3 separate regions of the Homo sapiens genome follow, and regions 2 and 3 are each linked to region 1. The links are contacts of gene promoters, found by promoter capture Hi-C in blood cells and fetal thymus (Javierre and others, 2016). All regions are on one chromosome and are shown on one strand. Each heading gives the region's core, a stretch centred on a gene start or on the middle of the fragment in contact. The rest is flanking DNA. Distances are from core to core; before and after follow the strand shown.

What was found. Contacts are between HindIII fragments. The CHiCAGO score rates a contact against its expected background, and 5 or more counts as called.
Region 2: a fragment that was not itself captured here is called in contact with the fragment with the promoter of ANXA9 in region 1 in 3 of 17 cell types (fetal thymus, naive CD8 T cells and total B cells); the score reaches 9.0 in fetal thymus.
Region 3: a fragment that was not itself captured here is called in contact with the fragment with the promoter of ANXA9 in region 1 in 1 of 17 cell types (total B cells); the score reaches 5.9 in total B cells.

The regions. Positions count from the first base shown.
Region 1 is chr1:150,980,558-150,985,138 of GRCh38, forward strand. It overlaps ANXA9 (annexin A9), which reads left to right and starts at 1,735. Exons shown (of 14, transcript NM_003568.3): 1 at 1,735-1,822; 2 at 1,930-2,026; 3 at 2,533-2,623; 4 at 2,781-2,877; 5 at 3,418-3,512; 6 at 3,724-3,837; 7 at 4,029-4,119. The coding sequence starts at 2,549. LOC105371438 (a long non-coding RNA gene) reads right to left here and starts at 948. Exons shown (of 3, transcript XR_922135.3): 1 at 864-948; 2 at 647-756. RefSeq lists an enhancer at 2,259-3,120. The HindIII fragment of the contact is 18,662 bases long and covers 536-4,581 here.
Region 2 is chr1:150,465,816-150,470,164 of GRCh38, forward strand. All of the region lies in intron 10 of RPRD2 (regulation of nuclear pre-mRNA domain containing 2), which reads left to right. Among named protein-coding and RNA genes, the nearest start is that of TARS2, 19 kb to the right of the region's middle. The HindIII fragment of the contact is 7,293 bases long and covers 1-4,349 here.
Region 3 is chr1:150,379,064-150,383,357 of GRCh38, forward strand. All of the region lies in intron 1 of RPRD2 (regulation of nuclear pre-mRNA domain containing 2), which reads left to right. Among named protein-coding and RNA genes, the nearest start is that of RPRD2, 17 kb to the left of the region's middle. The HindIII fragment of the contact is 188 bases long and covers 2,875-3,062 here.

The DNA.
Region 1 (4,581 bases), core at 485-2,984:
AATTACACAGATTACTTTTTTTTTTTTTTTTTTTTTTTGAGACGGAGTCTCACTCTGTCGCCCAGGCTGTGGAGTGCAGTGGCGCCATCTCAGCTCACTGCAACCTCTGCCTCCCAGGTTCAAGTGATTCTCCTGCCTCAGCCTCCCGAGTAGCTGGGATTACAGGCATGCGCCGCCATGCCCGGCTAATTTTTTGTATTTTTAGTAGAGACGGGGTTTCACTGTGTAAGCCAAGGCTGGTCTCGATCTCCTGCCTCATGATCCACCCGCCTCGGCCTCACAAAGTGCTGGGATTACAGGCATGAGCCACCGTGCCTGGCCACATTACCTTATTTATTTATTTATTTATTTATTTATTTTTATGAGTTCAATAGTTTTTGGGGACAAGGTGGTGTTTGGTTACATGGATAAGTTCTTTAGTGGACACATTACTTCATTTAATCATCCCAGGAAACCTGTCCTCGGAGGCCCCAGCATGTCCCACAGCCTCCGTCTCTCTCAATCCTCCCATTTAGAGAGCTGAAAGGACTAGCGAAGCTTACAGAACATAGGTGGCAGAGCTGGATATTGAACCCTCATTCTCCAGTTCTGACACAGGTGCATGTTTTCCTTTTAACAGGAGAGAAAAGTGAGGAGCAGTGATTACCGCCACAGAAATATCCTTTCATGGCGTGTCCTCCGGCATGGTCTACTCAGTGTGGTGGAGCCACTGCAGGTCCCTCCTCCAGGGATGTAGGAATGCCAGTGAAGGCCTTCCTGAGTTGGGAGAGAGGCAGAGGAGTGAGTGGAGGCAGGGCTGTAGCTTCTGTGCCCCGCCCCTACCCAGGCTCTCCAGGGAGGCAGGAAAGAGGCTGTGTTTAGACCTGAGGGAGCCAGCTGTGAGGCTGGAGCAGTTGCTGCATGGCGGGGCGGGGGCTCCACAGGGCTGTTCACCTGCTGCTCTGTGCAGAGACAGCCTCAAGTCCAGCTGCTGGGGTTGCATCACCTGCAGCTAAAACAGCCACAGGGCCCAGGCTGCCAAAAGGCAACAGAAGCAATCTAAGAAACCAGGCAAGGGAGCCTCCCCCATCTCCCTGTTGCCTTTTGGGAGCATAGAGCTTCCCTCTGAAGGTAACACCCTTTGCATTTTTCTCTCTTGACTCTGTTCATCAACTTCCACTCCCAAATACTTGTGCCCTTCCTTCTCCACAGATATACACAATCCCTGGGCACTCTCCACCTAGGTCAGCTGGCTCTAGTAAGGCAGCAGTCAAGGGAGTTTCTGGGCTGGGACCCCCTCTGGGGTGCAGGCTGGGGTGCCCTGCTGGTATGTGCCCCAACAGGTTTTTCCCTATCAGCCTTGAAATCAGCCTGCAGCCTGTCTGACCTGCCCCCCAGGGAGCTGGAGCCAGAGGCAGAGCCAGGTCAGAAGCTGGGGCAGAGCCAGGTCAGAAGCTGGACTTTGAGACTAGGTCTCTGTGGTCCCACCTGGACCCACAGGGAAGGCAGTGCATAAAAGCCTCCTGTGTTTGAGGCTGAGCCGCTGAGAGGCTGAGTGGAGTTCACTCACATGGATTGAGGCCCAGTTCCTGGGAGAAGAGATGCTGGGCAGGAAGGTGTCTGCATGTGGGACTCTGTACAGCCCGGTCCTCTCCCACGTCTGGGAGGGGCCAGAGTCAGACAACTGCTGGGTTCGTCCCTAAGAGAGGTCATCTGACTGGCTGTTCAGCCTAGGCTGCACACACCCCCACTTTCCTCTACCAGGCCACACCGGAGGCAGTGCTCACACAGGCAAGCTACCAGGCCACAACAACGACACCCACCTCACCTCTGGCACCTCTGAGTAAGTACTGGGCCCACGGCCCCATGCCAGGAGGGCTTGTTGATTGCTTGGGGGAGGGAAAAATGAGTTTTCCTTTTCCAACATGAGAGTGCCTCCTTTCTGTCCAGGCATCCACGTACTTGCAAGAACTCTTGCTCACATCAGCTAAGAGATTGCACCTGCTGACCTAGAGATTCCGGCCTGTGCTCCTGTGCTGCTGAGCAGGTAGGCAGCTGTACAGGCAGGAATTGAGGGTTGCTTGTCAGCTGGGGCTGCCGGTGGGGGAAGATGCTATTTCGAGTTGTCTTCCACTCTGCGTGGTTAATCCTGCCACCTCACCTCAGCTCCCCTGCACTGCCCAGGAGACCCCAGCCAGGCCCAGGAAGGAGGGCCATAGACCTCAGAAGGGAGGCATCTACCGCGGACCAAGGCCTGAGGAGCTTTGGTGCTGACCCTGGCATCAGGGAGGGTTGGCGCCTGGTCCAGGAGCATTCCGCATCAATCCCCACTTCCTAAAGGAGTGGGGAGAGGTGGGGAAGGTGGGGGCTCCCCTCTTACCTCACCATTTCAGCTCCATTTCTGGCTCCAAGCCTAAGCAGGTTGATCTTTTTTTCTGCAGCAAGGAAAGGAACAGGTGACTGGAACCCAGGGTCCAGGGTCTCGGGGGGGTCATAAGGAGTCCCTGAAGGGCCAGGAAATTCAGCTCTGTGGGCTCCTGTTTCCTTCCCCAGGGCAACCAGTAGCACCATGTCTGTGACTGGCGGGAAGATGGCACCGTCCCTCACCCAGGAGATCCTCAGCCACCTGGGCCTGGCCAGCAAGGTAGGGGCTGTTGGGATTTTAGAGATCACTTTTAGTATCTCAGCTCGGGCTGTGAGAGGATGGGAGGCAGGAAAGTGGAGGACAGGCCCTGAGGTTATGCTGAGGAGGTGTAGGCAGCCTGGCCCTGGCCCTTGCCAACTACCCTGTGCTCCCACAGACTGCAGCGTGGGGGACCCTGGGCACCCTCAGGACCTTCTTGAACTTCAGCGTGGACAAGGATGCGCAGAGGCTACTGAGGGCCATTACTGGCCAAGGTGAGCCCCTTTCCCCCGGCACTTGAGACTGCCTTTTAGAGCCAATCTGTAGACCAAGGAGGAGCCAGGAAGGAGGAACTAGTGATGTTGGAGAAATGTTTGTGGAATGCCTTCATTCTTGTATGTCAGGCGCCACAGTAGGTGTGTCAAACCCATTCTCACAACACCCCTGTGAGGCAAGGCTTATTATTTCCATTTTCCAGATGAGGAAACTGGGGCTCAGGGAGATTAAGAGGCTTGCCCAAGGTCACTCAGCTCATGACGGAGGTGGTATTCTCATCTAGGTCAGCCGATCCCCCCAAGTCGTATTTTTTTTTAACCACCACACCAGGCCACCTTTGCCTTGGTCTGGGTCAGATTTGCATGCTGTTTTGACATTTTATTTGCAACTTCTTTTGAGATAAAATGGAAGTGGGGGTGATATAGCCCCTGCTCCTTTCCTTCCCAGCCCTCTCCTGGAGCGCCTTCCCTCCTCCAAGGAGTAGGAACATCCCACTATGTAAAGACCCTGCTCACAGCACAGCCCTCATCTCGGTTCAGGCGTGGACCGCAGTGCCATTGTGGACGTGCTGACCAACCGGAGCAGAGAGCAAAGGCAGCTCATCTCACGAAACTTCCAGGAGCGCACCCAACAGGTGAGGCCATGCTGACCTCCCACAGCAGTGGACTGGGGTGAGAAACCCCCTGGAGGACTCGAGAGACAGCAACAGCCGCTGAGGCCAGCCCCTGCTTCCTGGCTAAACAGGGCCTGAGATGAAAACCAGCCAAATCTTCCCAAACCTCCCCACACTTCTGGGGCCCTTCCCCTCACCCCCGTCCCTCTGCTGTGAGGACCATTTATTGTAGGACCTGATGAAGTCTCTACAGGCAGCACTTTCCGGCAACCTGGAGAGGATTGTGATGGCTCTGCTGCAGCCCACAGCCCAGTTTGACGCCCAGGAATTGAGGACAGCTCTGAAGGTAGCAGGAGGGGAGACTTGCTGGGGTGTCTGGGGAAGGGAGAAGGCTGTCAGCCTTGCTTTTGCAAGACGAGAGTCCCCCTCTCGTCGTCCCATATTGTTTCTTAGAAGGAGAAGCAGCCAGCGTCTGCCCCTCTGTCTGCCATCCTAATGACACGGCCAGTCTGAGAGTAGACTCCCAATTTCTTGTAGGCCTCAGATTCTGCTGTGGACGTGGCCATTGAAATTCTTGCCACTCGAACCCCACCCCAGCTGCAGGAGTGCCTGGCAGTCTACAAACACAGTAAGAATATAGAGGGAGGGGTCCCAGATGCTGGAGAAGGGGCTGTAGGACAGGCCACTCCTCTCCTGTACTCCCCATAGGTGAGCTATCTGGCAACCTGGCTGCCTAAGTTCTATTCCCTTGGGGTCTTTCCTCTTGCCCCCACCAGTGCCTCAGTCTCTCAGGGGAGAGACCCAGATGTGATCATTAAAAAAAGAGAAGCAGGCCAGGTACGGTGACTCATGCCTGTCACCCCAACACTTTGGGAGGCTGAGGTGGGCAGGTCACTTGAGCCCAGGAGTTCAAGACCAGTCACAGGCAATAAAGGAAAACCTCATCTGTGCTAAAAATTCAAAAAAACCAGCTGGTCATGGTGGTGTGCGCCTGTGGTCCCAGCTACTCAGGAGTTTGAGGTGGGAGGATCACCCCAGCTTGGGAAGTTGAGGCTGCAGTGAGCTGAGATCGTGCCACTGCCACTGCACA
Region 2 (4,349 bases), core at 1-2,500, 520 kb before region 1:
TGGGAGGCTGAGGCGGGCAGATCACCTAAGGTCAGCAGTTCAAGACCAGCCTGGCCAACCAGGTGAAATAACATCTCTACTAAAAATATGAAAATTAGCCAGGTGTGGTGACACACACCTGTAGTGTGCTGAGATCGCAGTAAGCCGGAATCACGCTACTGCACTCCAGCCTGGACGACAGAGCAAGACTCAGTCCAAAAAAAAAAAAAAAAAAAAAAATTTTTTTATGACGCTTCAAGAACATAGTGAAACCCTGTCTCTACAACGGAATTAAAAATTAGCGCCGGGCGCGGTGGCTCACGCCTGTAATCCCAGCACTTTGGGAGGCTGAGGCAGGCGGATCATGAGTTCAGGAGATCGATACCATCCTGGCTAACACAGTGAAACCCCGACTCTACTAAAAATACAAAAAATTAGCCGGGCGTGGTGGCGGGCACCTGTAGTCTTGGCTACTTGGAAGGCTGAGGCAGGAGAATGGTGTGAACCCAGGAGGTGGAGGTTGCAGTGAGCCAAGATTGCCCCACTACACTCCAGCCTGGGCAAAAGAGCAAGACTCTGTCTCAAAAAAAAAAAAAAAAAAAAAATTAGCTGGGCATAGTGGTGCATGCCTGTAGTTCCAGCTACTCAGGGGGCTAAGGCAGGAGGATCACTTGAGCCCAGGAGTTCAAGGCTGCAGTACGCTGTGGTCACCCCACTGTACTCCAACCTAAGTGATGAGACCCTGCCTCAAAAAAAAAAAAAAAAAAATTTCTGAGACATGAATATATCTTTTTTTGTCCTAATGTTTTATAGAGGCTTCATTATTTATTATTTTATTTATTATTTTATTAGAGTCTTAGATGTAGTATTTTTGTTTTCACCTACCTATAATCTCTCTCATTTGACCCTTTCTGTTCAGCTTTACTAATTATGTTTTGTGCATGACACTGCCTGTTTCTAACCTTTTTTCATAAATCTTTCCTACTCTCTACTCTCTTATGCTCCAGATACCAATGAAATCCTTTTTAAGTACCGTAGTATAATTATGAAATGAATTACAAATACCAGGGCAATATATTCAGTGTAGTGATTTACTCTATATCAGTAGTCTCAACCAAAGGCCTCCAGGGAGGACACTTGGCAATATTTGGAGACCTTTTTAGTTGTCTCAACTGGGGTAATGGTAGGGGTGCTACTGCCTCTAGTGAGTAGAGGCCAGGAGGATGCTCCTAAATATCCTACAATGTGTGAGACAGCCCCAACAATAAAGAATTATCTAGCCCAAAGTGTCAGTAGTGCTGAGGTTGAGAAACCCTGCTCTCTATCAAAGGAGTGGTGTAAAACAGTTTCCTAAACTGTTATGTAAGTGGATCATTCAAGCATATTATAGTGAACTTTGTCTGGAGGTGCAGAAGAATTTTGTTACACAGAACTAAATAGTATTAAGTAATAATCCACAGCCCCTATCTATTGGCATCAGCAATAAAGAATTGATGATGACTGCAGCACATGTTGTACTACTAATATCAGGGACAATTTGAGAGTTTGACATGTTTATGCTTTCTCCCTTTTTATTTTTATTTGTTTGTTTGTTTTTGAGACGGGGACTTGCTCTGTTGCCCAGGCTGGAGTGCAGTGGTGTGATCTCGGCTCACTGCAACCTCTGCCTCTCGGGTTCAAGTGATTCTCTTGCCTCAGCCTCTCGAGTAGCTGGTATTACAGGCTCACACCACCATGCCCGGCTAATTTTTGTATTTTTAGTAGACACGGGGTTTCGCCATGTTGGCCAGGCTGGTCTCGAACTCCTGACCTCACGTGATCCACCTGCCTCGACCTCCCAAAGTGCTGGGATTACAGGTGTGAACCACCGTGCCTGGCCGATGTGAAATTTCTGATGAGGCAAAATTTGAACAGAACTAGGTTCCTTATGGAATGTGGAATTCTCTTTGACTTTTAAAAGGATTGTATCTAGCAAGTTAAATAGATGTATTTCCTCGAAGACTGTTAATGAAATCCCAGAACTTTGTTCTGATTGTGTCATCCACAGCCCTAGGTATTGACAGATTTATAACACAAAAGAGAGACTTCAGGCCCGGTGTGGTGGGTCACACCTGTAATTCCAGCACTTTGGGGACGGGTGGATCACCTGAGGTCAGGAGTTCAAGACCAGCCTGGCCAACAGGGTAAACCTGTCTTTCCAAAAAAAAATACAAAAAAATTAGCTGGGCGTGGTGGCTCACAGCTGTAACCCCAACTACTTGGGAGGCTGAGGTAGGAGAATCGCTTGAACCCGGAAGGCAGAGGTTGCAGTGAGCCAGCCTGGGCGACGAGCAAAACTCTGTCTCAAAAAAAGAGAAACTTCAGTGGGCAAAGGAGCAGAGTATGACTTGTTATGATTAAAGAGCAAACTTTTGGCTGGGCGCAGTGGCTCATGCCTGTAATCCTAACACTTTGGGAGGCCACGATGGGAGGATCACTTGAGGCCAGGAGTTTGAGACCAGCCTGGTCAATATAGCAAAACCCCTATCTCTATTGTTTTTAAGAATTTTTAAAAATAATTAAAAAAAAAAAAGATTGGAGAACAGTAATATTTAGTGGTGAGAGACAATTTTACCTATTACCAGAAATCTGAGTAGTATATCTATCTTAAAAAGATGTTCTTTTGAAGAAGTTATCCCAAAATATCTGAAAAATATGCTGAAATATCTTCTAAAAATCATATTACATTATTATATATCACATTCTAGTGTTTGAGGACTTCTGGGTTTTGTGAGAACAGTGATTACTAAGAATTAAATCAGGCTGGGCATGGTGGCTCACGCCTGTAATCTCAGCACTTTGGGAGGCTGAAGTGGGACAATCACTTGAGCCCAAGATTTTGAGATCAGCCTGCGCAACATGGTGAGACCTTGTCTCTACTAAAAATAAAAAAGTTAGCTGGGCATAGTGATGTACACCTGTGGTCCCAGCTACTCAGGAAGCTAAGGCAGATAAATCTTTTGAGCCCAAGAGGTTGAGGTTACAGTGAGCTATGATCGCACCACTGCACTCCAGCCTGGGTGACAGAGCAAGAGCCTGTCTCTTGAAAAAAAAAAAGGAAACTATTAGTAGGGATGAATTATGTGGCTAGGGAACTTTTTTTGGAATGAAACATGCCGATTTTTTTTTTTCTTCAGAAGGATCATAACTAAAGTAAACATTATTTCAGTTGTTTGGATATTACTGAATATTGGATAACAATAAAGACCATCCAACATTATTTAGAAATAAATGGCTTTAAAATGTTACAAGGATGGAGGGGACTTGAAATTCTTTAGGCCAAATCTGTTAGAATATGGGTTAAAATTGAAATTTTGAAGAAATGTTAATTGAAATATCACATGAAGTATTTTCTTTAATCATATAATTACTAAGGAACAATGTTAGTGTATTCAGTGACTAAAAGCTATAAATTTGGGTGAAATGTATATTAAAAATTTTTTTAATTAATTTATTTTTAAATACAGAGACTCACTTTGCCACCCAGGCTGGTGTGCAGTGGCAGAGTCATAGTTAGTTTACTGTAACCTTGAACTGGGCACAAGTGATTCTCCAGCCTCAGCCTCCTGAGTAGCTAGGACTACAGGCATGCACCATCATGCCCAGCTGATTTTTAAATTTTTTTTAGAGACAGAGTCTCTCTGTGTTTCCCAGGCTGGTCTCAAACTCCTGGCCTCAAGCCATCCTCCTGCCTCTGCTGCCCAAAATGCTAGGATTACAGGCATGAGCCACCGTGCCCAGCCAAAAGTCTTCATTTGTGACCAGAAATTGGGTAAATTTTTAAAAATATGATTGAATTTATAGAACCTTCTGTTATCTTTTTGTCAAATATTTTTCTAAAAAATTTTCTACAGGAGCAGTTTGCTTTGTTGAACTTCAGCCTTTGCCCCAAAGAATTCTTTCTCAGTGCTTCTGAGAAAGTTTTGACTGTCAGTGAACACAGTTAAATTCCATCATTGTCAATCTGGACTAAATAATCCTTGGATTTTCCACACTATAAAATGGGGATTGTGTGTTTTCTTGTGAAAGGACCAGTGTCCCTGGTGGTCTGTCTTTGTAAGTCTTTGTGGTGTATGTTTGTTATAGCTACATTTTACAACCAAAACGGATGGTTGAAAGCATTGTTTTTCAAAAAGTAACAACAGTCTACCAAGAGGTGCTTCTTGAAAAAGGTGTTTGCTGTTCAGATAAGTTTCTGAAATTTGCATTTGCCTGTCTCCCGCTTGAAAATAACAATGTATATTAACTTATTAGAGATAATAAGTTTGAAGGTTGAAGGTTGGTTTGAAGGTTGGACAGGAAAGGTAGAACAGATCTGTTTGCATTTAGAG
Region 3 (4,294 bases), core at 1,719-4,218, 600 kb before region 1:
CAAGGTGAGGAGTTCAAGACCAGCCTGGCCAACATGGCGAAACCCTGTGTCTACTAAAAAAAAACAAAAATTAGACCGTCATGGTGGCGTGCGCCTGTAATCCCAGCTACTCAGGAGGCTGAGGCAGGAGAATTGCTTGAACCTGGGAGGCGGAGGTTGCAGTGAGCCCAGATCACGCCGTTGCACTCCAGCCTGGGCGACAGAGCGAGACTCCATCTCAAAAAAAAAACAAAAAGAAAGAAAAGAAATAATTTATTGATTGTAATGGATTTATTGTTTTTAATGGGTTAATGGATGTTTTTAAATTCTTAGGTTTAATTTCTGTTTATTTTATTTTTATTTACGTATTTTTTTTTGAGACCGAGTTTTGCTTTTGTTACCTAGGCTAGAGTGCAATGGCGCCATCTCGGCTCACTGCAGCCTCCGCCTCCCAGGTTCAAGCGATTCACCTGCCTCAGCCTCCTGAGTAGCTGGGATTACAGGCATGTGCCACCATGCCCGGCTAATTTTGTATTTTTAGTAGAGACGGGGTTTCTCCATGTTGGTCAGGCTGGTCTCGAACTCCCAACCTCAGGTGATCTGCCCGCCTCGGCCTCCCTAAGCACTGGGATTACAGGTGTGAGCCACTACGCCTGGCAAATTTTTGTATTTTTAGTAGAGATGGGATTTCACCATGTGTGGCCAGGATGGCCTCGATCTCTTGACCTTGTGATCTGCCCGCCTTGGCCTCCCTAAGTACTGGGATTACAGGCGTGAGCCAACGCACCCGGCCAGGTTTAATTTCATATAGTAAATAGCCATAGCTATAACCCACAAAAACATAACTCTTTGAGGTCCTCAGTAATTTTTACCAATATAAAGGGTTTCTGAAACCAAAATATAGAATGACCTTTGTCAATTTTCTGCAATGTAGATATCCATTGTCTCTCATCTTAACATCGCATATTGCCCGATCGTCTCTAGGCTTTATTTTATCAACCAGTTAATTTTTATTTTTAATTTGTGAGATCATAAGTTTGTTAGCTTTTTATTTTGCCAAAAATGGACATAAAAATATACTACATTTATAGCATCACTACCCACCATTTTATAAACTATCACTTTATTAAAAAGGTTATACTTTAATTCCAAAAGTGTTAGAAGGACATTTTCTCAGAATAAAGGATAAACCTTCAAACTACATAAATTTAGCTATTTGAAAAATTTGCTTTGATGTCCTTGTCTTTCAGATCTCAGCTCAGGTGTCATCTCCTTGGAGGTTGACCTTATGGTGGTTGTCTGAGAGCCCACCTCTTTCCCTCGCCCATCATTCTCTTATCATATTACCCTATTTTTTTTTGTTTTTTTTCCTCCTGGGTTCAAGCGATTCTCCTGTCTCATGGCAAGCAGTTCTCCTGTCTCAGCCTCTGAAGTAGCTGGGATTATAGGCATACACCACCATGCCCAGCTAATTTTTGTATTTTTCTAGTAGAGATGAGGTTTTGCTATTAGCCAGGCTGGCCTTGAACTTCTGACCTCAGGTGATCCACCTGCCTCAGCCTCCCAAAGTGCTGGGATTAAGGCGTGAGCCACCACACCCGGCTCCTATTTTATTTTATTTTTATTTTTTTGGGACGGAGTCTCTCTCTGTCGCCAGGCTGGAGTGCAATGGCGTGCTGTCGGCTCACTGCAACCTCTGCCTCCTGGGTTCAAGCGATTCTCCTGCCTCAGCCTCCCGAGTAGCTGGGATTACAGGTGCTCGCTACCACGTCCAGCTAACTTTTTTGTATTTTTAGTAGAGACGGGGTTTCACCATGTTGGCCAGGATGGTCTCTATCTCTTGACCTTGTGATCTGCCCGGCTTGGCCTCCCAAAGTGCTGGGATTACAGGCGTGAAGCACGCCTGGCCTTTATTTTCTTTATGGCTTTTCTCATTATAAGATACTGCCTTGTTTATTTATTTGCTTATTTATTGAGACACATGGCCCCCCTCACCCCCAAAAAGAATGTAAACTGCTAACAACAGATTATTTGTTTTGTTCACCACTGCATCCTCAGCACCTAGAAGAAGGCATGGAACATAGAAAGTGCTGTAATTGTCAGGGTGTGCTGGCTTATGCCTGTAATCCCAGCGCTATGGTAGGCCAAGGTGGAAAGATTGCTTGAGTCCAGGAGTTGGAGACCAGCCTGGGCAACATAGTGAGACCCCCATCTCTACAAAAAAAAAAAAATAGGTAGACATGGTGGCGCGTACCTGCAGTCCTAGCTACTCAGGAGCCTGAGGTGGGAGGATTGCTTGAGCCTCAGTGGTTGAGGCTACACTGAATTGTGATTGTGCCACTGCACTCCAGCCTGGAAAACAGCAAGACCCTGGCTCCAAAAACACAAAAGTGCTTAATCAATGAATCTTCCTTAAGTGTGACCCCAGACCACACGTTGAGAACTGCTGCAATAGGACACAATTTTTTTTTTTTTTTTTTGAGACAGGGTCTTGCTCTATCGCCCAGGCTGGAGTGCAGTGGCGTGATCTCAGCTCATTGCAAGCTCTGCCTCCTGGGTTCATGCCATTCTCCTGCCTCAGTCTCCCGAGTAGCTGAGACTACAGGCGCCCACCACTGCGCCTGGCTAATTTTTTGTATTTTTAGTAGAGACGGGGTTTCACCGTGTCAGCCAGGATGGTCTCGATCTCCTAACCTCGTGATCCGCCCGCCTTAGCCTCCCAAAGTGCTGGGATTACAGACGTGAGCCACCGCGCCCGGCCACAGGACACAATGTTTTTGTTAGATTTATGTATGTAGGGAGACATACTGTATTGTACTGTTGTATGTTGGTTAGTTGGTAAAGAACATGGGCTTCGATCTCAAATAGACATTATGGTTGCTACTAACCTCTGAAAGCTTTTAAATAGGGATAATAATTGTATAGCTCACCTTATATGATTGTTGGAATTAAATAAGATGCTTCATATGAAGTGTTTGGCAAACTACCTGACATTTAGAAAATTCAGCAAATGATAACTTGTCATTTAAAATGCAGTTATGATATACAGTTATTATAACGTTTTATGCAGGCCTGTCTGCATAAGCTTTTTAAATTCTTCCGATTAATCCTGCGTACTCTATGTGAAATGTTTATTAAGGTTAATAATGTAAAGGAGTGGACATGGCTTTTTTTGAGCCCTTTCTTATTAATATTAGCAAATAGCAAAAGAACATATAATTTGGAAGCTGTTTTCCTATTTTGATTATTTCAAGGACCTATTCATATAGCAACATCTTGTAGTTCTAGAAATTCATTGAGAACTTAAGAATTTTTTATGTTTTTATAGCTTTTTTGTTTGTTAATTTGTTTGTTTGTTTTGAGACAGAGTTTGGCTCTGTTGCCCAGGCTGGAGTGCAATGGCGATCTCGGCTCTGCCTCCCGGATTCAAGTGATCCTCTTGAGTAGCTGGGATTACAGGCACCCATCACCATGCCCGGCTAATTTTTGTATTTTTAGTAGAGACGGGGTTTCATCATGTTGGCCATGTTGGTCTTGAACTCCTGACCTCAGGCAATCTGCCTGCCTCAGTCACCCAAAGTGCTGGGATTACAGGCGTGAGCCACTGCACCTGGCCTATAGCTATTGTGCTAATATAAATGCATCTTGTTGGGTGCGGTGGTACTTGCCTATAGTCCCAGCTACTTGGGAGGCTGAAATGGGAGGATCACTTAAGGCCAGGTGTTTGAGGCCACAGTGCACCCTGATCATGCCTGTTAATAGCCACTGAACTCCAGCCTGGTCAACATAGGAAGACACCTTTCTAGTTTTTAAAAATAAATGAATAAGAGATAAGGTTTCACCACGTTGCCCAGGCTGGTCTAGAACTGCTGGGCTCAAGCAATCTGCCCACCTCAGCCTCCCAAAGATGCCAGAATTACAGGAGTGAGCCACTGTGCCCGGCTGGGATTTTTTATTTTTATTTTTTTGAAACAGAGTCTCACTGTGTCACCCAGTCTGGGGTGCAGTGGTGCGATCATGGCTCACTGCAGCCTTGACATCCCGGACTCAGTTGATCTTTCCCATCTCAGCCTCCTGAGGTGCTAGGACTATGGGTGCAGGCCACCATGGTCAGCTAACTATTAAAATTTTTTGTAGAGATGATGTCTTGCTATGTTGCCCAGGCTGGTCTCGAACTCCTGGACTCAAGCTATCCTCTTGCCTTGACCTCCCAAAGTGCTAGGATTACAGGTGTGAGCCACGAGACCTGGCCTCAAATAAGAGGTTTTTTTTTTTTTTTTTTTTGGTGACGGAGTCTTGCTCTGTTGCCTAGGCT